Regions from separate parts of the Homo sapiens genome. Here all the other regions are linked to region 1. Evidence: promoter capture Hi-C in human tissues and cell types (Jung and others, 2019). All regions are on one chromosome and are shown on one strand. Each heading gives the region's core, a stretch centred on a gene start or on the middle of the fragment in contact. The rest is flanking DNA. Distances are from core to core; before and after follow the strand shown. Region 1 holds the start of GABRA5 (gamma-aminobutyric acid type A receptor subunit alpha5). Region 2 has its middle 38 kb from the start of LINC00929. Region 3 has its middle 74 kb from the start of LINC00929. Region 4 has its middle 140 kb from the start of LINC02248.

Region 1 (3,609 bases), core at 777-3,276:
AATTTGCAAAGAAAGGAGCCCGCTGTCCTTCCCCAGGACAGCTGCACACCAGGTATTTTCCATCACCCTCACTGGGCAGTAAGTTGGAGCATAAAAATAAGTAACAAGAGGCTTATTTTTACTTCTACTCAGGGTGCAGAATCACCCTAATTCGTTGTTTTCCACTCAAATACTCTGTTTTGTTTTTTAGCATGTTATCAAATAAACCATTAGTCCAATTATTAAAATAAACGCTGTAGTTATCTGAGCGACTGTATTTTGTATCCGTCAAATCCACAAGTGTAGTAATTTTACCTTTCTGAAATATCTGCCACGCCACGCGTTCAAAGCCAGCAAGCTACTCCTCTCTCTGCAAGGCACTGAGAAAGTACGTGGAAAGAAGTGGGGAAAAGCACATTTAAGAAACAGGTTTTCTGCAGGATCACAATACTGTGACAACTGCCTATAAAAGAGTGTGGCTACTTTCCCGGCATTCGGTCCCCGTGACTACATAACTTAAGCACTGCATCTGTGGAAGTCTCTCCACTCAATGCTGGACCCTAATTAATGTATTTGAGATCCAGGCAGACATTGTCCCTGGGCTCAACGACTAACCTTCCTGAAAACACGCATTTCTCAGTATGCGCATAACGCAAATAGGTGCTCACAGGCATCCGAACAGTATGCTTCGAAAAGAAGCATTTTCCCAAGAAGCCCCCCCAACCCCCATCCCCCGCAAACTCCGGAATTGGGAGACACAACAGGTACTTCCACCTCGGAAGCGAAGGCCTTCTGCGACTCCTGCCAAGAAGGGCAGGGTGCCATGCGGTGGTCGCCTGGGCGCGTCCGGGGGGCTCGTCGCGGGGCCCGGGCCAGAGCCAGGCGGCGAGCACGCGGCGCTGCATGCGGGAAACCCGGGCGGCGCCTCCCGCCGCCCCTCAGCCCCGAGCCAGGGACCCCCAGGAGAGGCTGCGCTCCCACGACCCTCCGGACCCCCACAGAGGCTCACCAGGGCCGGCGCGCCAGGGCAGGTGGGCGCGGGGGCTGCACTGCGGAGCCGCAGCCTGGGTCGCCCTGGCACCCGCGGTCGCCACCCGCGCGGTCCGCAGCGGCACGCCGAGGGTCTCCAGCTCCCCGGCCCTCCCCGGCTCGCTCCCGGCTTTCGCAGACTTCCCCTGCTCCTGCCCCGGGTACGAGCCAAGCGCTCCGCCAGGCAGCGCCTTCCTCCTGGGCTGGGAGCGCGCGGTGCAGCAGCGACTCCAAGTCCCCTGGCCTCGAGCAGCCCGCGCGACACGCGCGCGACACCCCCGCGGGGTCCGAGTCCACCCCGCGAGCAGCGCCGGGACGCCGCGCGCCTCAGAGCCCCGGGGCTGACGCTGGCTTTCCAGGTGGGCGATCTCACCCCTCCGGCTCCCGTGATGGTGGCAACGGGTGTCCCCCACCCCCAACCGGTCACCGCGCCCTGGTGCCCCGTCCGGCAGGGATGAGCCGCCCGGACCCCGCTCTCTCCCGCGCCCGGCTTCAGCCCCGCAGTCGCCAGGGTAAAGTTTGCGCTCTGGCCTGGCTGCGCGCCCCGCCTGCTCTGCACCTCTCCTCCCCGGCCACGCAGCCTGCCGCTCAGGCGCCCCGAGGAGAAGGGTGCGGACCGAGCCGGGGCGGCCGGTCCTCTTCCCCGCTCGCGTCCTCTTACCCCACTGCCCCGGCCCAGCGCGCCCAGGGCTCACCCTGCGCGCCGGCCCCGGGAGGCGAGCCGTCGGTGAGGATGCATCCTCCTTCTCCTCCGCCTGCTCTCGCCCGGCTGGCAGGCGCGGAAGGCCGGTGCGGCGTCACCGCCCCATGCTGCCAGCGCGAACTTCCCCGGCACTCCCGGCGGAGCGGCTCTTGCGCCCCGCGCTCCCGCCGCCGCCCTGCAGCTCCGCTCCGCGCCGCGCCCCGGGCCGCGCGCCGCCCGCCGCAGAGCCCCCCAGCGCCCCCGGCGCACTCGCGCCCGCTCTCACCTCGCCCGAGCGCCACATGTCGTCTCTGGGCTGGAGGATCGGCCCTCTGCAGAGGTGCTCCGGTAGAGGCCGCCAGACGCTCAGCAAATGCGCCCTTGGCCGAGCTGGGCGGAGGGGGAGGGCGCAGGGCCCCCGGCTCGGCCTGCAAGGGGAGAGGCCCTGTTCTGCTGAAGTTTCTCCAGGGCCCTCAACAGCATCTTCGGCGCCTCGTGTAGTCACCACCGCCCGCTTGTAGAGCAGGGATGGGAGGGCAGTGTCAGCAGTCGGGTGATAGAGGCCTGGACTCCGACAGCTTTGCTCCCTAGAGCCGGCCCCAACGCCTCCCTGCCCAGGCCTGGGTCCTTCCCGGGTGCTCCATGGCACCCCTTACATGCGCATCTCTTAGGCGCTTCTGAAAGAAGCTGGCCTGTGGACATTCTTTTCATCTCACTCATAGACAGGAATGCATAACTACGGGAGGGAAAGCCAGGGTCACATTGGACTCGATTAGAATGAAATCCTTACCTAACGCAGTGTATATCTGGGGGTTTTCTGAAGTTCCATTTCTTGACAACAAGCCGCAGTGGCAAACGGGAAAGGGCCAGGAGCCCTGGGGGCTGCAGGTCGGAGAGCGCCTCTGGGGTGACGGGGCGGGATCTCCCCAGCAGGGCTTCCGAGCCACGTCGGGTCACTGCCTCATTAGCCACGTACATGGGGTCTTACTATGGTCATTACGTCGGTGTGTCGTCCGTCCTAGTGGTGCAGTTCCTGGGAGGTGAGGGTGGCATTAATGACAACTGCGCGGCAGCAGGGCCCCTTCAAACAACACAAGTAAGAGCGCATCGTCTTGGGTTTGCCAGGTCTTGCTTCCTCAGGAGGTGGGGGACTCTCGACTATAACACCCAGTGGAAAACGTTCAAGACTCAAAGGAAAGCCACTGAAAACGTGATGGGGAGGTTTACTTACACCATTGTCCCATTCCTTTTGTGAAACTGCATTATTCATAATCTCTTTTAACAGAATAATGGTAAGTAAAGGCAAATTCCTAACTCCCCTCCAGGAAAGATCTTTGACCTTCCAGTGTAGGAAGCCTCTCATTTTTCCAGTTATCTCTAATACAGTGTATTCCAAATCTAAGTTACCTGTTAATACTTCTGCACATTCCAGAAATTCTGAAATTTTCTGAAAAACAAAACTTGTAAATCTATTCCAGGAATAGGACATAAATATACATAAATGTGCAAATATACAGGAAGTGTTTCTCTGAATATACATTTAGCCACACTATTAAATAACTGTTTCCAGTGGTTCTTCAGGAAATATGAATGAAATAAGATGCTAATTTGAATTTTCTAATTCTAAAATGGATCACTGAACGTATGCATTTCTTCATTTTCTAATTTCCCAAAAGATGTACCACTAGGGTGAAATTCCTTGGGAGACATTAAATTTTAAAAAGTTAACAACATGGTTTTATGATCAGCCTAATATAATTTTCACCTATTAGGTGTTGGAATTCTAACACCTAATACCAGCGACAGCTGCTCTTCTCTCAGGATTAAACAGCATAATGCAAATCAAAGAGTTGGAAGAATTGGTAAATTTTAAACTTCACAGCTTGTCACACAAAGTCATTCGGTGTGAGTTTGCAAAA
Region 2 (3,609 bases), core at 387-2,886, 710 kb after region 1:
CCCCTGCTGGAACCAGACAGGCTGGACATCTCAGTCCCAAGAGGTATTCCCCACAGCCCAACACACCGGCTGTGGCAGATTACAGTCAGAGTGCCTCTTCAGGCCTGACCTTGACCCATCCCTCCTCACTGGGAAGGGCCTCCCTACAGGAACTCCAGCAACTCCAGCCAGGGGCTCAGAGACAGAACTCTGAGCTCCCTGGGCCTGAGCCCCTAGTGGGCATGGTGGCTGTAGTCTCCACAAACCAGCAGACTTAGTCTTTCCTCCTGCTAGTTCCGAGGAATCTGGGCAGTGCAAAAGAGTGGGTTTCCCCCCAGCATAGCCACCCCCTCCATCAAGGGGCAGCCAAAGTGCTTTGTTAAACTGGTCCTGCTCCCCTTGCCACCCAACTGGGTGAGATCCTCCAACAGGAGTTGTCAGACACCCTATACAGGAGCATTCCTGCTGGCATCAAGTTGGTGCCCCTTGAGGTCAGAAATCCCAGATGAAGGAGCAAGCAGCCATCTTTGCTATTCTTCAGCCTCCTTGAGTGTCATCTCCAGGTGCAGGAGTGAACCAGATGAATAGGGCCTGAAGGGAACCCCCAGCAAACCACAGCAATCCTACAGAAGAGAGATCTGACTATTGAAAGAAAAACAAACAAACAGAAAGCAACAACAACAGTGTCAACAAAAAAGTCCCCACAAAACCTCATCTAAGGATCAGCAGCCTCAAAGTTCAAAACTAGATAAACCCATGAAGATGAGAAAGAATCAATGAAAAAAAATGCTGAAAACCCAAAAGGCCAGAGTGCCTCTTCTCCTCCAAATGATTGCACCACCTCTCCAGCAAGGGCACAGAATTGAACAGAGAATGAGATGGATGAATTTACAGACATAGGCTTCAGAAGATGGATAATAAAAAACTCTGCTGCAGTAAAGGAGCGTGTTCTAACTCAATGCAAAGAAGCTAAGAACCTTGATACAAGGTTACAGGAGCAGCTAACTATAATAACCAGCTTAGAGAGGAACATAAATGATCTGATGGAGCTGAAAAACCCAGCATGAGAACTTTGTGAAACATACACAAGTATCAATAGCTAAATCAATCAAGCAGAAGAAAGAATATTGGAGATTGAAGACCATCTTGCTGAAATAAGCAGGCAAACAGGATTAGAGAAAAAAGAATGAAAAGGAATGTACAAAACCTCCAAGAAATATGGGACTATGTAAAAAGACCAAATCTACAATTGATTGGAGTACCAGAAAGAGATGGGGAGAATGGAACCAAGTTGGAAAACACATTTCGGGATATTATCCAGGAGAACTTCCCCAACCTAGCAAGGCAGGCCAACATTCAAATTCAGGAAATACAGAGAATACCACTAAGATACTCCACAAGAAGATCAACCCAAGACACATAATCATCAGCTTCTCCAAGGTTGAAATGAAGGCAAAAATGTTAAGAGCAACCAGAGAGAAAGATCAGGTCACCTACAAAGGGAAGCCCATGAGACTAACAGCAGATCTCTCAGCAGAAACCCTACAAGCCAGAACAGAGTGGAGGCCAATATTCAATATTCTTAAAAAAAAGAATTTTCAACCCAGAATTTCATATCCAGGCAAACTAAGCTTCATAAGCAAAGGAAAAATAAAATCCTTTTCAGATAAGCAAATGCTGAGGGACTTTGTCACCATCAGGCTTGTCTTGCAAGAGCTCCTGAAGGAAGCACTAAATATGGAAAGGAAAAACGGGTACCAGCCACTGCAAAAACACACCAAAATATAAAGACCAATGACACCATGAAGAAACTGCATCAACTAGTGTGCAAAATAACCAGATAGCATCATGATGACAGGATAAATTTATACATAACGGTATTAACCTTAAATGTAAATGGGCTAAATGCCCCCAATTAAAAGACACAGACTGGCAAATTAGATGAAGATTCAAGACCCATGGGTGTGCTGTATTCAAGAGACCCAACTCACGTGCAAAAACATACACAAGCTTAAAATAAAGGGTTGGAGGAAAACTTACCAAGCAAATGGAGAGCAAAAAAAAAAAAAGCAGGGGTTGCAATCCTAGTCTCTGACAAAACAGACTTTAAACCAACAAAGACCAAAAAAGATAAAGAAGGGCATTACATAATGGTAAAGGGATCAGTGCAACAAGCTAACTATCCTAAATATATATGCACCCAATACAAGAGCACCCAGATTCATAAAACAAATTCTTAGAGACCTACAAAGACTCCCACAAAATAATAGTGAGGGACTTTAACACCCCACTGTCAATATTAGGCAGATCAACAAGACAGAAAATTAACAAGGATATCCAGGACTCGAACTCAGCTCTGGATCAAGTGGACCTAATAGACATCTACAAAACTTTCCATCCCAAATCAACAGAATATACATTCTTCTCAGTGCCACATGGCACTTATTCTAAGATCGACCACATAATTGAAAGTAAAACACTCCTCACTCAGCAAATGCAAAAAAACTGAAATCATAACAAATAGTCTTTCAGACCACAGTGCAATCAAATTAAACTCAGGATTCAGAAACTCAATACGACACAAGTACAAAGAAATTGAACAACCTGCTCCTGAATGACTCCTGGGTAAATAATGAAATTAAGGCAGAAATCAAGAAGTTCTTTGAAACAAATGAGAGCAAAGAGACACAGCTCTGAGACACAGCTAAAGCAGTGTTAAGAGGGAAATTTATAGCACTAAATGCCCACATCAGAAAGCTAGAAATATCTCAAATCGACACCCTAACATCACAATTAAAAGAACTAGAGAAGCAAGAGCAAACAAATCCAAAAGCTAGCAGAAGACAAGAAATAGCTAAGATCAGAGTGGAAGTGAAGGAGATAGAGACACGAAAAGCCCTTCAAAAAATCCATGAATCCAGGAGCTGGTTTTTTGAAAAAATTAATGAAATAGATAGACTATTAGCTAGACTAATAAAGAAAAAAAGAGAGAAGAATCAAATAGACACAATAAAAAATGATAAAGGGGATATCACCACTGACTCCACAAAAATACAAACTACTATTAGAGAATACTGTAAACACCTCTATGCAAACAAACTAGAAGAAAAGGATAAATTCCTGGACACATGCACCCTCCAAAGACCAAACCAGGAAGAAGTAGAATACCTGAATAGATCAATAACTATTTCTTAAATTGAGGCAGTAATTAATAGCCTACCAAAAAAAAAAAGAAAAAAGCCCAGGACCAGATGGATTCACAGCCTAATTCTGCCAGAGGTACAAAGAGGAGCTGGTACCATTCCTTCTGAAACTATTACAAACAATTGAAAAGGAGGGACTCCTCCCTAAATCATTTTACAAGGCCAGCCTCATCCTGACACCAAAACCTCACAGAGACACAACAAAAAAAGAAAACTTCAGGCCAATATCTCTGATGAACATTGATGCAAAAATCCTCAATAAAATACTAACAAACCAAACCCAGCAGCACATCAAAAAGCTTATCCACCATGATCAAGTCGGTCTTATCCCTGGGATGCAAGGCTGGTTCAACATATGCAAATCAATAAACATAATTCATCTCATAAACAGAACCAATGACAAAAACCACAAGATTATCTCAATAGT
Region 3 (3,609 bases), core at 555-3,054, 680 kb after region 1:
TAGGACCTTGTTATCAAGCACACATTGATTAAAACCCCAACATATGTTTTATGACTGTTTCCTCTATTGTGTGTATCCAGCTGTAGAGATTTGGCTGTGCATTTCTCTATATACAGTCTTGTTCTTTTCTGCCTATGGAGAAAATGTTTAAAGCATATTAATGTCTCCTCTTCTATAATAAACAGGAAAGGATGGACACAGAATGGACCAGGAGTCATCTAAATAGATACCAAAAAATTAGGAATTACAGCAAACAGGAAGAGCTGATGAGACCAATGATCACTTCTCATAACTCGGTGGAAAGAGGAATTTGGCACGAGGGATGATGGATTAACCACCTGTCTCATGAAGGGAGGTATTGCTGCAGACAGACTACATCATCTCCTGGCATGGACAGCCTCTGAATTACTAATAGTTCAATACTATGAAATAAGCTTTTGTGGGTCAAAAATAGACATTTTTGTGTGGCTCATGTTAATAATTAGAGTGCACTATAATAAGCAAATAGTCATCAGTGTGAGGCTCCCAGTGGCTGGCCTTTGATTGGCAGAGGTTCAGAGAGGTGGCTTCAAGGGCAGAGTTGCAAATGGAAAACGAGTGGCCAAAGGGAGGGTGAGTGTCTCTGCATAATTTATAATAGTGAGTCACACTCACTATTGAGTGTTTCCTAGACCATAGCTGGCATTTCTGCTGTGATGGCTCTGAGTGGCTACTGGGGAAGAGAGCGAACTACATGTGGGACATCTGAAAGCAATTATCTTGGTAAAGTGATATGACAACAATAAATATTCACCTTTTAAAGCAGACCTCTCAGCCTCTGGAGCCAATTTGCAAATTGGGAGATAAATGACACATACACAAATATCATTTCATTTATTAATAAGTCTTCATAGACCTATACCTGTACCCCAGGTTGAAAATCATCACCAAACATTGAACAAATGCCTGCTATGGTTAAGGCATCATTTTAAGATCTGGGGAGGACACAAAGAGGCATGAGACACAGTTATTGTCCTTCAGGATTTTAGACTGTGGTTGGAAACAGGGTATATGGTACAAAAACAGAGAGACCAGGCCAGGCGTGATGGCTCACTCCTGTAATCCCAGCACTTTGGGAGGCCAAGGTGAGTGGATCATCTGAGGTCAAAAGTTTGAGACCAGCCTGGCCAACATGGCAAAACCCCATCTCTACAAAAAAAAAAAAAAAAAAAAAAATTAACCATGTGTGTTGGTGCATGCCTGTAATCCCAGCTACTCGGGAGGCTGAGGCACGAGAATTGCCTGAATCCAGGAGGTGGAGGTTGCAGTGAGCAGAGATCATGCCACTGCACTCCAGCCCGGACAACAGAATGAGACTCTGTCTCAAAAAAAATAAAATAAAAAGAAGAGAGAGAAACCAATACTCTTTTGATAATTTCTAGATGAAGACATAGAATAATAACGTATTATGAAATATTACATGCTATTACCATATAAGTCCATCTTTGCTGTGGAGTGTAGGTGCATGGCACAGGTGTCCTGGCTCCCACACCATAGGGCTGGTCTGTGGTTCTGCTTCCACAAAGACAGTCTCTAATGCTGACTGACAGTGGGAAAACCGGGGTCTGGGCAGCCAAGATGTCCCTCTTATTCACTCAATTTCTGAACCAAAGTTCCACTGTTAACAGAAAAAATGCAAAGTATCAAGGAACGTGGCTTAAATCTGAGGGTACAAGGACTTTTCAACCCACATCCTAGAATGAGGCACACAAGTCTCCAGTCATTCCCAAGGGCAAGAGAGGAGGAAAACAGCTGCCCCCCACCAGGAGCTCTCTCCTAGGAGGAAATGAGAGGACAAGACCCATGCTGAGAATTCCTGGCCCATTCTTCTGCAGAGAAGAGCCAGATAACCTCCCAGCACCCCACCTCCAGCACAGAGTGAATGAGGGAGTCATGGGAGGGCTGAGGTACCATGTGTCCTGCCCTGAGATGCAGCCCACCCTGCACTCGTATCAGTGAAAGCAGAAGATGATGCAAGGGTTCCCAAAACCTTTAACAACCACTTCAATGTCAATCTACTGCAGACCGTCATGCAAGGAGGCAAAAAAACACAGATTTGGGGTCAGAATTTGGGACCAATGAATGAAATGCTGGTTTGGACACTGTTGACCAAGTAGGACTCATGAGTTACCGTAACAATCATCATGGAGCCAAGCCTTCAGGGTTAAAAGTCCCACTCCCTCCCTCCCTATCCCTTTAATGAAATGCAATGTCCAACCACCTCACGGACAGTGGGTTCTCCATAAAGTAGCAGAACTTCCTGTGAAAACGCTGATTTCCACATATAAGTCACGGAGGTGGTGGCAGAAGAACCATGGGTTCTGTAATTGCTGCTTACAGGATAATTAAGAGCTTAATATTATAAAAGTTAATTATAAAATTATATTAATTAATTCTAATAGCCCAACGATCCTTCTGGAATTGATGTCTGAGAAGAACAAAGTCCCCAGAGAGGTCCACAGGGAAAAGGTCGAGTCAGACAGAAGTTTTCAGGCCCAGAGCTGTGCCTGCTTTGTTCTGAGCTCTAGTTTGGGAAACACAGGAAGAAACGAAGAGGGACACATAGTGACAGGGACCCTTGGGCTCCTGGGGGTGGTGGCAGGAGCACATGAGTGACAGCTGTTTCCAAATATGGACCGATGACAAGATGCTTCCAAGAGCCAAAAGGTAGGCCTTATTAGTACTTTGTAAACTTTCTCAGGCTTACATTATACAAGGGGTAATTTTTAAAAATAATCATCATGATCTTTTCTAAATGAAAAATTTGATGATGCATTTACTATCCAAATTACTGTAATAATGAACTGCCTTCTAGTCAATTTCTAGTGTAATTGGGGGATCTATGGCATAAAGCTTAAGACTTAGACACAATTCTCCTCCTCTCTGTCACAAGCTTCAAGCCTGATATTTTCCTGGCAACTCAAAGCCTTCTTGTAATATTGTCAGCAGTATGTCTTCCTCCCCAAAATTTATAAAAAGTGGTTGTGTTTGGATTTGTTTTTCTTACAGATTAGGAAAGATCTTTTCATCTTTCAAGTGAAAAAGATATCTGCTAGCAAGAATAATGAGGATTTGAGAAATCATTGTGGAAAAAGAAGATTTGTTTATACGAAGCCAGTGACTTTGGCCTGACTGTCATATGTAAGCACATCTGACAGAAGCAAAGGCAAACCTAATAATCCAATGATTACACCCCGAGCCCATGTAATTTGAGAAGTGAGCATCTTGGGGGTAGTTTAAATCAGGGGCTTTGGTGAAAGGCAGATCTTCTTCTTCATTTTTTTTTTTTTTTTAATTTTACTTTTAGAAAACCCTGCAGAACATGCAGGTTTGTTACACAGCTAAATGTGTGCCATGGTTGTTTGCTGCACCTATCAACCTGTCACCGAGGTACTAAGCCCCGCATTCATTAGCTATTTTTCCTAATGCTCTCCCTCCACTAGCCCCCACAACCGACAGGCTCTGATATGTGTTGTTCCCCTCCCTGTGTCCATGTGTCCTCATTGTTCAGCTCCCACTTATGAGTGAGAATATGCGGTGTTTGGTTTTTTTGTTCCTGTGTTATTTTGC
Region 4 (3,609 bases), core at 318-2,817, 610 kb after region 1:
GAAACAATCTCTTTTACATTGTGTGATAAATAATAATAAGAGGTTGGCCAGGTGCAGCGGCTCATGCTTGCAATCTCAACATATTGGGAGGCTCGGGTGGGAGGATAGCTTGAGGCCAGGAGTTTGAGAATAGCCTGGGCAACATAGTGAGACTTCTTCTCTACAAAAAAAAAAAAAAAAAAAAAATTAGCCAGGCTGCTAGCCTGTGCCTGTGGTCTTAGCTACTCAGGAGGCTGAGGCAGAAAGACTGCTTGAGCCAAGGAATTGGAGGCTGCAGTGAGCTATGATCATGCCACTGAATTCCACCCTGGGCAACTGAGCGAGATGCTGTCTTTAAAAAAAAAAAAGAAAGAAAGAAAGGAAAAAAGAAGAAATAAAACTGAAATTTAGAAAAGTAAAAATTGGACCTCAACCATGCCTTTGGAGTTCCATGTACATGTTTAGGAGAGATGAATAATGATATTAATTTACAAAACAAAAGAAAAATTATCTTATTAACTTAAGTAGTGGTAAAGTTGGAAAATCTAAAGTTCTAAAAGACTTGAGAGAAATACACCTCTTATAATTTGAGTTTATTGAAAACAAATACTATTTGGAAAGATATTTTGAATGAAACAACATTCCTGCAAAATGCTTCACCCCGGAGGCAATAAGCAAACCCAGTGCCCAGACACTGGTTCCTTACACCATACTTCAATACACGGAATCAGGGTGCCATGAAGAAATGGCTGATTCTAGGGTTGGGGCAGGGAATATACAATATGAGCCTAGAGCATCTTATAGTATCAGAAAGCAAACAAGTGCTCAAAAATCAAACGATGGGCTTATGAAGGGGACACAAGAGCCAACTGAAAGAGCTCCCAATGGCCAAAGCTGGAACAATTTGAGAAATAAAATAAGTAACATTGTACTGGATTATAACCTGGAGCATAAAATAAATATCCATGAGTGCATACTGGTATAAATACATGATTGCATACACAAATAAGTAGGGGAGAATAGGCAATTCTCCATGTAAAAGAATTCCAAATAATTTTATGTAGCTATTATTTCCTCCAAGAGGTGAAGCATAGCTCCACAGCCTTAAGTGTGGGCTTCTTTCCAAAGTGATTTCCAAAATAATTTCCTTCCAAAGAGCACAGCATAGGAAGAGGGAAAACAAAGTAATTTTACAGTGGAGAAATCTGATGTCTACTGCTTCAGCCAGATGATCAAAGTGAGCATCCGCAGTGATGTTGATTGTATGCACCTCTGATATGATATAATTAATATGGCACTTTCCCTCCATGGTCTTCTTCCCAAGAACCCATAAACTCAATGGGAAAAATACCTGACAAACTCAAACTAAGGAAAATTCTACAAAATAGCCAATACATCTCAAAACTGTCAAGCCCATCAAAAGCAAGACACTGTAGCCAAGAGGAGCCTGAGAAAACGACTAAATGCAATGTAGGATCCTGGATGGAATCCTGGAACAGAAAAAGATGTTAAGGAGAAACTAAAGAAATCTGAATAATGTATGGACTCAAATTAATTACAAAATGATTTATAGTGCCATGATAAGACCCAGATTTCTGGAGTGGGCATTATTGCAATTACTTTTAAAATGGGAGAAAATATGGCTGGGGGCAGTGGCTCATGCCTTGTAATCCCAGCACTTTGGGAGGCTGATGCAGGTAGATCACCTGAGGTCAGGATTTCGAGACCAGCCTGGCCAATATGGCAAAACCCTTCGTCTACTAAAAATACAAAAATTATGGGGGCATGATGGCGGTTGCCTATAATCCCAGCACTACGGAGGCTGAGGCATGAGAACTGCTTGAACCCGGGAGGCAGAGGTTGCAGTGAGCCAAGAGTGCACCATTGCCGTCAAGCATGGGCAACAAGAGTGCAACTCCATCTCAAAAAATAAAATAAATAAAATAAAATAAAGTAAGAGAAAATATGAAAATAAATATATAAGAAGAGGCAGGCTGAGGCAGGGGGAGCCCATAATCAACTGATGCACTTGAAAATACAGATCCTCTGTGTCCTGAAATTCCTTTTGGAGGTAAAATTAGAGAAATTGTTTGCTCTCAACATAGCAAATGAATCAGCATTTTGGACACACAGTATCAAGCAACCAGGAATATTTTTTATTTTTTTAGCTAGTAATCACATTTCATAAGAAGGCGAAGCATAGACATGAGCCCAGGGTAAATGCTGTGTTTATAAGCATGGCCTTATGTTAAACTATGCTTCTCAATGGGTAACTTTGAAGCCAGGAGGCTGTGCCCTTCCCTGGCCATTAGAGAGCATGGTTTTGTGAAAGTGCCTGTAGACATGGTTCCCAGACCCCTCCCATTCACACTGCAGAGTTGAAGAGGATATTTTTTTGAATGGATAAAATAAGAGCTGCTTCCTTTATTTTAAGGAGCGATAGCTAGTCCCTCCAACACAATACTTTGTTCACTTATTACAGTCAGTCGACAGTGTGCACTGAGTATCATCTCTGTGCCTGGCACTGTGTTTATACTTGGGGACATAAAGATGCATAAAGTGGGGAAGGATTCTGGGAAGATGGTGGAGCAGGAAGAACTGACTCTGTCTCCCACTGAGACAACTGCACTGACAGAATGTGTCTTATGTAACTATTTTGGAACTCTGGAGTCTACTGAAGACTCGCACCTTCCACATAAATGTGTTTAATTTTGGCCAATTTCAGCTTTTAGTACGGTAGCTACCCAAGCCCCCTACCATCCCCGTGGCAGTTGGCTGTATTGTGTTCCTGGAACAATGGCACATAGTGGTGGGAGCCAGGGTGAGCAAAATGTACCCTGTCCTCTAAATATCAGTAAATCTACGCTCTGGTTGCTGATTGCTGCCTCTCATCACAGAGGTGCAAAGAGGTGTGTGGCTGCTATTGTTGCACCTCCTTCAATCCATGCAAGCCCCTCCTCTTTCACAGCCATTGTTGCAGTCCCCTCCTCCTATGGCCAAAGTGACTGCCAAGAGAATTAAAGGGATTGCATACTTCCCTCTCCCCTTTAAAGGGCCCGTACTAATCCCCACCCCAGCACCCCCACCCTGCCTTTTTAGGAGCCAGACATTAAATGCTAGGTAATTCAAAAGCAATTGCATATATGGGGAAAGTAAGAAAGTGGCCATACATGCCCAAAGAAAGGCACAGGCTCAAAAAAGATCTAAGAAGACCTTAAGTTTACACCTCAGGCTGTTCTTTGGCACAAAGACTACAATGATCAAAAACAGTTTGAGGCTGTTTATGAAAACACCTGACCAACATGGTGAAACCCTGACTCTACTAAATACTAAAAATTAGCTGGGTGGGTGGTGCATGCCTGTAATCCCAGTTCTTTGGGAGGCTGAGGCAGGCGGATCATGAGGTCAGGAGATCGAGACCATCCTGGCTAACACGGTGAAACCCTGTCTCTACTAAAAATACAAAAAAATTAGCAGGGCGTGGTGGTGGGCACCTGTAGTCCCAGCTATTTGGGAGGCTGAGGCAGAAGAATGGCCTGAACCTGGGAGGTGGAGCTTGTAGTGAGCCAAGATCGCGCCACTGCACTCCAGCCTGGGCGACAGAGCGAGACTCTGTCTCAAAAAAAAAAA

Evidence for each region. Contacts are between HindIII fragments. The study calls those that stand out against the background at their distance.
Region 2: a contact is called between a fragment that was not itself captured here and the fragment with the promoter of GABRA5 in region 1, in 2 of the 25 tissues and cell types used here (H1 embryonic stem cells and dorsolateral prefrontal cortex).
Region 3: a fragment that was not itself captured here is called in contact with the fragment with the promoter of GABRA5 in region 1 in 1 of the 25 tissues and cell types used here (dorsolateral prefrontal cortex).
Region 4: a fragment that was not itself captured here is called in contact with the fragment with the promoter of GABRA5 in region 1 in 1 of the 25 tissues and cell types used here (H1 embryonic stem cells).

Annotation. Positions count from the first base shown.
Region 1 is chr15:26,865,479-26,869,087 of GRCh38, reverse strand. It overlaps GABRA5 (gamma-aminobutyric acid type A receptor subunit alpha5), which reads right to left and starts at 2,026. Exons shown (of 11, transcript NM_000810.4): 1 at 1,977-2,026; 2 at 295-359. The HindIII fragment of the contact is 20,920 bases long and covers 1-3,609 here.
Region 2 is chr15:26,152,259-26,155,867 of GRCh38, reverse strand. No RefSeq gene overlaps it. Among named protein-coding and RNA genes, the nearest start is that of LINC00929, 38 kb to the right of the region's middle. The HindIII fragment of the contact is 4,239 bases long and covers 1-3,609 here.
Region 3 is chr15:26,188,402-26,192,010 of GRCh38, reverse strand. No RefSeq gene overlaps it. Among named protein-coding and RNA genes, the nearest start is that of LINC00929, 74 kb to the right of the region's middle. The HindIII fragment of the contact is 3,638 bases long and covers 1-3,609 here.
Region 4 is chr15:26,253,728-26,257,336 of GRCh38, reverse strand. No RefSeq gene overlaps it. Among named protein-coding and RNA genes, the nearest start is that of LINC02248, 140 kb to the left of the region's middle. The HindIII fragment of the contact is 7,226 bases long and covers 1-3,609 here.